2 separate regions of the Homo sapiens genome follow, and region 1 is linked to region 2. Evidence: promoter capture Hi-C in 16 types of primary human blood cells and fetal thymus (Javierre and others, 2016). All regions are on one chromosome and are shown on one strand. Each heading gives the region's core, a stretch centred on a gene start or on the middle of the fragment in contact. The rest is flanking DNA. Distances are from core to core; before and after follow the strand shown. Region 1 overlaps DCAF8 (DDB1 and CUL4 associated factor 8). Region 2 holds the start of KCNJ10 (potassium inwardly rectifying channel subfamily J member 10).

The links. Contacts are between HindIII fragments. The CHiCAGO score rates a contact against its expected background, and 5 or more counts as called.
Region 1: a contact is called between a fragment that was not itself captured here and the fragment with the promoter of KCNJ10 in region 2, in 1 of 17 cell types (naive CD8 T cells). The highest score is 5.5, in naive CD8 T cells.

Annotation. Positions count from the first base shown.
Region 1 is chr1:160,253,424-160,256,552 of GRCh38, reverse strand. The region is part of intron 2 of DCAF8 (DDB1 and CUL4 associated factor 8); the gene reads left to right. Among named protein-coding and RNA genes, the nearest start is that of DCAF8-DT, 6.8 kb to the left of the region's middle. The HindIII fragment of the contact is 4,406 bases long and covers 1-3,129 here.
Region 2 is chr1:160,068,343-160,071,529 of GRCh38, reverse strand. It overlaps KCNJ10 (potassium inwardly rectifying channel subfamily J member 10), which reads left to right and starts at 1,370. Exons shown (of 2, transcript NM_002241.5): 1 at 1,370-1,508. RefSeq lists a silencer at 1,179-1,408, a cis regulatory region at 1,903 and an enhancer at 1,819-1,988. The HindIII fragment of the contact is 4,127 bases long and covers 1-3,187 here.

The DNA.
Region 1 (3,129 bases), core at 541-3,040, 180 kb before region 2:
GGAAAGCTACTATAGGGTTTACCTCTAATGGTAGTCAAGTTACTGTATTCCTCTGGTGTACTTTAATGATTGCCACATTACCAGGTATGTTTTGTTAACCTTACTTAGAATCCAACATTAGACCCTTTCTTCTAACCTAACCTGTAGGAAGGCACTTCTTGAGGTTTTAAGCCTCTCTTTAATGTTTTATTGTAAGTTGTACCTTGGGAGCATCATTTTTTCATCTTAAATCCTCTCCAGTTTAAGAAAAATTTGAAATATAAATGGCAAAAACTGTTAATGGCAACAGACTTCTGATGTAAATGTAAATTGAGATGGAAACAAAATGAAAAGTAGATTTCCCTAGGAATTAGTTAAACTGAGATAAATGGTCCTGGATGTTTTTATAGAAAGTTCTCTTAGCCAGGTGCAGTGGCATGTACCTGTAATCCCAACTACTCGGGGGGCTGAGTTGGGAGGACTGCTTGAGCCCAGGAGTTTCAGGCTGGCAACATAGCAAGACCTTGTCTCTTAAAAAAAAAAAAAAAAAAAAAAAAAAAAGTTTGCTTAGTTCTGCTGCTGGAAATTAACACTTAAGGGTTAGAGTGCATTCCTGACATAGTCTGAAATACTGTTATTAGAATTAAAGCCAGAGGCCATGCACGGTGGCTTACATCTGTAATCCCAGCATTTTGGGAGGCTGAGACGGGCGGATCACCTGAGGTCAGGAGTTTGAGACCAGCCTAGCCAACATAGCAAAACCCTGTGTCTACTAAAAATATAAAAATTAGCCAGCTGCAGTGGCATGCACCTGTAGTCCCAGCTACTTGGGAGGCTGAGGCGGGAGAATTGCTTGAACCCAGAAGGCAGAGGTTGCAGTGACCCAATATCACACCAGTGTACTCCAGCCTGGGTGACAGAGTGAGACCCTGTCTCAAAAAAATAAAAATAAAAAAACAATAATTAAAGCCAGTAAACTATAAACACTGGGCATTTTATGTTACCAATAGGGAGAGAAGGCATTAATTCAAAGAAGGAACAAAGTTCCTTATTCATAGTTTGAATCCTCATCATTATCCATGGTGATTGCTTTGCAGTCTTCCATCTTGGGTATCCTCAGAACCTTCAAGAGGGAGAAGAGGCCAGGTGTGGTGGTACATACCTATAATCCCAGCACTTTGGGAGGCCAAGGTAGGAGGATTACTTGAGCTCAGGAGTTTGAGACCACGCGGCAAGATAGTGAGACTCCGTCTCTACGATAATAATAGTAAAAAAATCTATTTTAAAAATTAAAAGAGGGAGAAAAACTTAGGGAGGCTTATATTGTGGGTTCCTGGGTAGATTGTCTTACTGCAGTTCGTAGAACATGAATACTTGAAAGAAGATATTAACGGAGCTCTCTGAATTCTTTAAAACGCCAGAAAGGGTAAGCAGATTTCATAGACTTGGGACTGTGTCCTATATTATATACGATGTTTGGAGAATCATTGCTGAGTGGTAAAGAGGTCCAGGATTTTCTAGGAAATGTAGTCTGGTATAGAGATGGGAAACTAGAAAAATAATATAAATGGCTACTATGTACAAACAGGCTCTTAGCATACATTATTTTTAATCCTCTAAATTCCTGCAGGGTGGTAATATTATCCCATTTTACAAAAGAAAAACTCAAAAGCAGGTGGTAGAGGTAGAATTCAAACCCAGGTCTGTTTGACACCAAAGCCCTTTTCTTTCTTTCATAACACATGCTGTCTTTAAAAATAGGACTTTTCTTTTTTCTTTTTTTTTTAGATGGAGTCTTGCTTTGTCGCCAGGCTGTAGTGCAGTGGCATGACTTGGCTCACTGAAACCTTCCCCTCTCGGGTTCAAGCAGTCCTCCTGCCTCAGCCTCCGAGTAGCTAAGACTACAGGCGCATGCCACCATGCCCAGCTAATTTTTGTATTTTTAGTAGAAATGGGGTTTTACCATGTTGGCCAAGATGGTCTTGATCTCTTGACCTCGTGATCCACCCGGCCCGGCCTCCTAAAGTGTGGGGATTACAGGCGTGAGCCATGGTACCTGGCCAAAAAAAAAACCAGGGCTTTTCAAAGCCAAGAGATGAAGCTGAAAGGTAGAATTAAATATTTCTTATAAACATATGTATATAAATTATTCAAATGACAGTAGGAATACAAACTTTTTTTATTGTTTAGACATAGTTATGCTATATTGGTAAGCTAATGAGTTTTTAAGAAAACAATTTTTTTTTTTTTTTGAGACAGAGTTTCGTTCTTTGGCCCAGGTTGGAGTGCAGTGGCACAATCTTGGCTCATTGCAACCTCTGCCTTCCAGTTTCATGCGATTCTTCTGCCTCAGTCTCCCCAGTAGCTGGGATTACAGGCATGCACCACCATACCTAGCTTATTTTTGTATTTTTAGTAGAGACGGAGCTTCACCATGTTGGCCAGGCTGGTCTCAAACTCCTGACCTCATGATCCGCCTGCCTCGGCCTCCCAAAGTGTTGGGATTACAGGCATGAGCCACGCACCCATCCCAGGAAATAATTTTTATAGATTTAAGAGATAGCTGAATCCTAGTGTTTTATGATTCTTTACTGGAGAGAAAATCAGCATTCCATTCAATCTCTGAGATAATTCCAGGGGAAAAGCTGTTCTGACTCTTACAGCCTTTTGACAGTATACTGTTCTCTGTATTTTTTTGGAAGCATGGACTATCCTCCTTACCTTCTTGGTTTTTTTGTTTGTTTTTCTGAGACAGGGACTTGCTCTGTCACCCAGGCTGGAGTGCAGTGACCCCATCACAGTTCACTGCAATCTCGACCTCTGGGACTCCAGTGATCCTCCCACTTCAGCCTCCCAAGTAGCTGGGACTACAGGTGTACACCACCACACCCTGCTATTTTTTTTTTTTTTTTTTTTTTTTTTTTTTGAGATGGAGTCTCACCCTGTCGCACAGGCTGGAGTGCAATGGTGCGATCTCGGCTCACTGCAACCTTTGCCTCCCAGGTTCAAGTGATTCTCCTGCCTCAGCCTCCTGAGTAGCTGGAATCACAGGCGTATGCCACCGCGTGTGGCTAATTTTTGTATTTTTAGTAGAGACAGGGTTTCACCATGTTGGCCAGGCTTGTCTCAAACTCCTGACCTCAGGTGATC
Region 2 (3,187 bases), core at 121-2,620:
CAGAAACTCTGGCCTGACCACAAATCAGCACAACTCTGTGTTTCTTCCGGATGTTCCCCTTAACACAAACACTGCCTATGGTGCCTAACCTTTAGTCCCGTCCTTCCAGCTTCTCCAATGAGGCTATTTGAATGGACATTTACTTATCTTATGGCTTTTAGTGGTTAAACTAAGCTACATTCCTAGTTTCTTTCCTTTTTTTACCTGAATTTATAGCAATTCAATATGGTAACACTGGTTATTGATTAGCAGTTAAATGTTTATGATGATCAGAAATGAGGAAATAATTATATTCTTTTTAAATAAATGCTGGGGGTGGGGGTGAATTAAAACCTCTCAACACATAGATTCAGAAAATTAAAGAAATCTTTGGTGATGAAAGGGTTGAGAACCATCACCCTGCACTCTAATCTAGTAAATGGGACAGTTTGATGCTGTTTCCCAAGTGAACTTGTATTTTCACGTCTCCCCAGGACTCTGCTACGTTGTTCCCTCTGCCTTAAATGCAACAGAGTCCTGGGGACCATCTCTCAGCACCTGAATCTTCTGCTTCCTTTGGGACCCTAATCAGATGTTACCTCTTTCCTCCCACATCTGCTAGGAGCCCTCTGAGTAGAATGACCTCTCCCTTTTACAGCCTTCAGTACCTCCCGCACTTCGCTGAGGGTTCCGGCCTTATCTTTCCTTACAGAGAAAGCCGCTGCAGGTGGGCACCGTGTGCTGCGCGTCTCTCACCCAGCACCGCACCGGGGACTTAGGAGACGGTGAACAACACGGGAATTGTGCCCAAAGATACAGTCCTGTGGCTCAGGGAGCCCAGGCCTACTCCGCCCCAATCTCACTTCCAGGCGCCGCCTTCGGCGCTGCCTGCAGGGCCACTGGGCCGGTCCTGAATTCATTTCCACTTCGTTAACTCGGTCCCAGTCCCGCCCCCCGGCTCCAGCTCTCGTAACCCATCGCTGACAGGACCGCCTCCCTTTTCTTCCTTCTCCCTTCCCCTGTCACCCTGCCAGCTCAGCTCCTATCGTTTCGCATATCGTCTCTTCATCTCTCTTTCTCCCCGGGTCTGTCTGGGTCTCTGTCTTTGGATATTTCTCTCTGCGCCTGCAGCTGTCTGGGTCTCCGCTTCCTTGCCCCGCACGCCCCGCCCCCTGCCCAAGACCCTCCAATCTCGGCGGCTCGAGCCTGGCGCTCCACTCTCCCATTGGTCTGTTCGGAGCCCCCCGCCCCCGCCTGCCCGGCCCCCCTCCGGGCCCCTCCATTCACACAAAGTTTGGCTCCGGCGCTGCGGAGGGAGGGGGCGGCCCGGCCCGGCCCAGCTCTGCCCCCGGCCGGCCCGACCCCGGCCCCGGCCCCCGGACAAGCCCTTATCTGATCCCAGCTCCGGGTTTAAGAGTCCTGGCCCGGCCCGTCGCACAGCTCTGCTCCTAACTCCTGCCCGCCCCGTCCGTCCATCTGTCCCGCTGCCCCGCGGCCCATCCAAGGGGCCACTCCACCTCGGACCCAAGGTAAGACCCTGGCCCTGATGAAGGAGTTCTGCCGCCCCGGCCGGGTCCTGTCCCCCTAACTCTCCAGAGACATCGGGGTCCCAGATCCTCAGTCCCTACCCTGCCTGGCCTCAGCGGTACCACCGTCTTGTTCCCCTGCCTCCCGCCTTGGGCAGTCCCAAATGGAGCCTCCTGGGAAGGGCTCCCCACGAGGAAACTAGCCAGGCTGGTCACCTCAGCCCTTTCATCTAAGGAAGGGGCTTTCCCGATGCCCCCTCCCACTGGGCAGACCAGCAGTTGCATCCCTGCTCCTCTAGTTAATACAGTGACAACCACACATAACCAGGCACCCCATACACAGGCACAACAGACAGTGCGCCCTCCTCCCCATATGGACAGGTTACTCCCATCCCCAGCCCCTCCCCCACTCCCCATACAGTGACAATCACATAGTGACACCCATGATCGCTAGTTCCCACATGGGGAGAAAAACAGATACTGGCAGCTTAAACCGGGGAGCCACCAAAGCCTGGTGTGCTCCAGACCCCTGCCCACCCAATCTCTTCCTTCTATTCTGAGTGGCTCCCATTTTAAGACATCCCTCCTCATGGCCCCTCACCCTCACCCCAGCTGTTTCGCACTGGGATTTCCAGAAGGAAAGGAGCAGGGCCACTTCTGCTAGAGTGAGAAGGGCAGATTGGGTTCTATAAACTCACCCTCCAGATGGAGACGCCCCTTCCCATTCCATTCCTCCTCTCATCAGAACTAACCCAGGGCACCTGTGTTAGGGAACAGATGAAGGATGGAACTTCCTGATTTGGGGGAGGAGAGCTGAACCCAGGAATGGGTAGAAGGACAACACTGGGAAAAAGTGAGGGTGGGTTCTGGTGTCTTGAAGTTTAATTCCAGTGAGTGCCCCAGGCAGGGTGAGGCAGATGGGGAAGAAGCTGGTGCAGATTTGGACCCCAAAGAGGCCAGTGCTTAAAGCCTGCTTCTGTTGCTTACCAATACAAATTCTGACTAAAGATGTCTGGCCAGTCTGCTCTTGCTGTGGTGTTTGAATTTTTTTTCTCCCCACTGGGACTGCTTTAGGCTGCCTGGGTGGGAGGGAGATAATGACAGGAGATTTAGGGCCCCCATGTGAGAGATGGCCTTGTTTAAGGGTGCTGAGGAGGGCCTGGAGTGGTTGTCATGAAATTAGCCCCAGGAGGGGTGGGCAGCCACCAGTGAGTTCAATTTAGTTTCATCCTGAAACTCTCTCCCTAATCTCCAAGGATTTTTGAACATATTCCTGGCATGATGGTGGGTACCATCCTGTGCCAAGTGGTAGGGCTTGTAAATTTCTCTGGGGGTAGACTGGGTATAGGGGACCAAGTTTGGAAGGAACCAGGCATCCTGACTCATAGCTGGTTCTTCAGGGAGGAAGAAACGAGGGAGGAGGGGGATGGAAGGCATCATGCCAGGGAGAGGGTCCAGGGCTGGATTGTGGAGGCAATAGGCACGGCCCAGGCAGTGCCAACTCCTTTCCCCGCTGCCTTCCCCCAGTCCTTTGGTGGTGGTGGCAAGGGAGGAAGGGAGGGAGAGGGTGTTGGGGGGTGATCTGGGCTGGTCCAGCCTCCCAAAGCCCTTGCCAACCTGGGTCCTGAAAGGAGCTGCTGTTTTCTGAGCCATCCCCCCACCCCCCACTCAGAGCCTGAGCA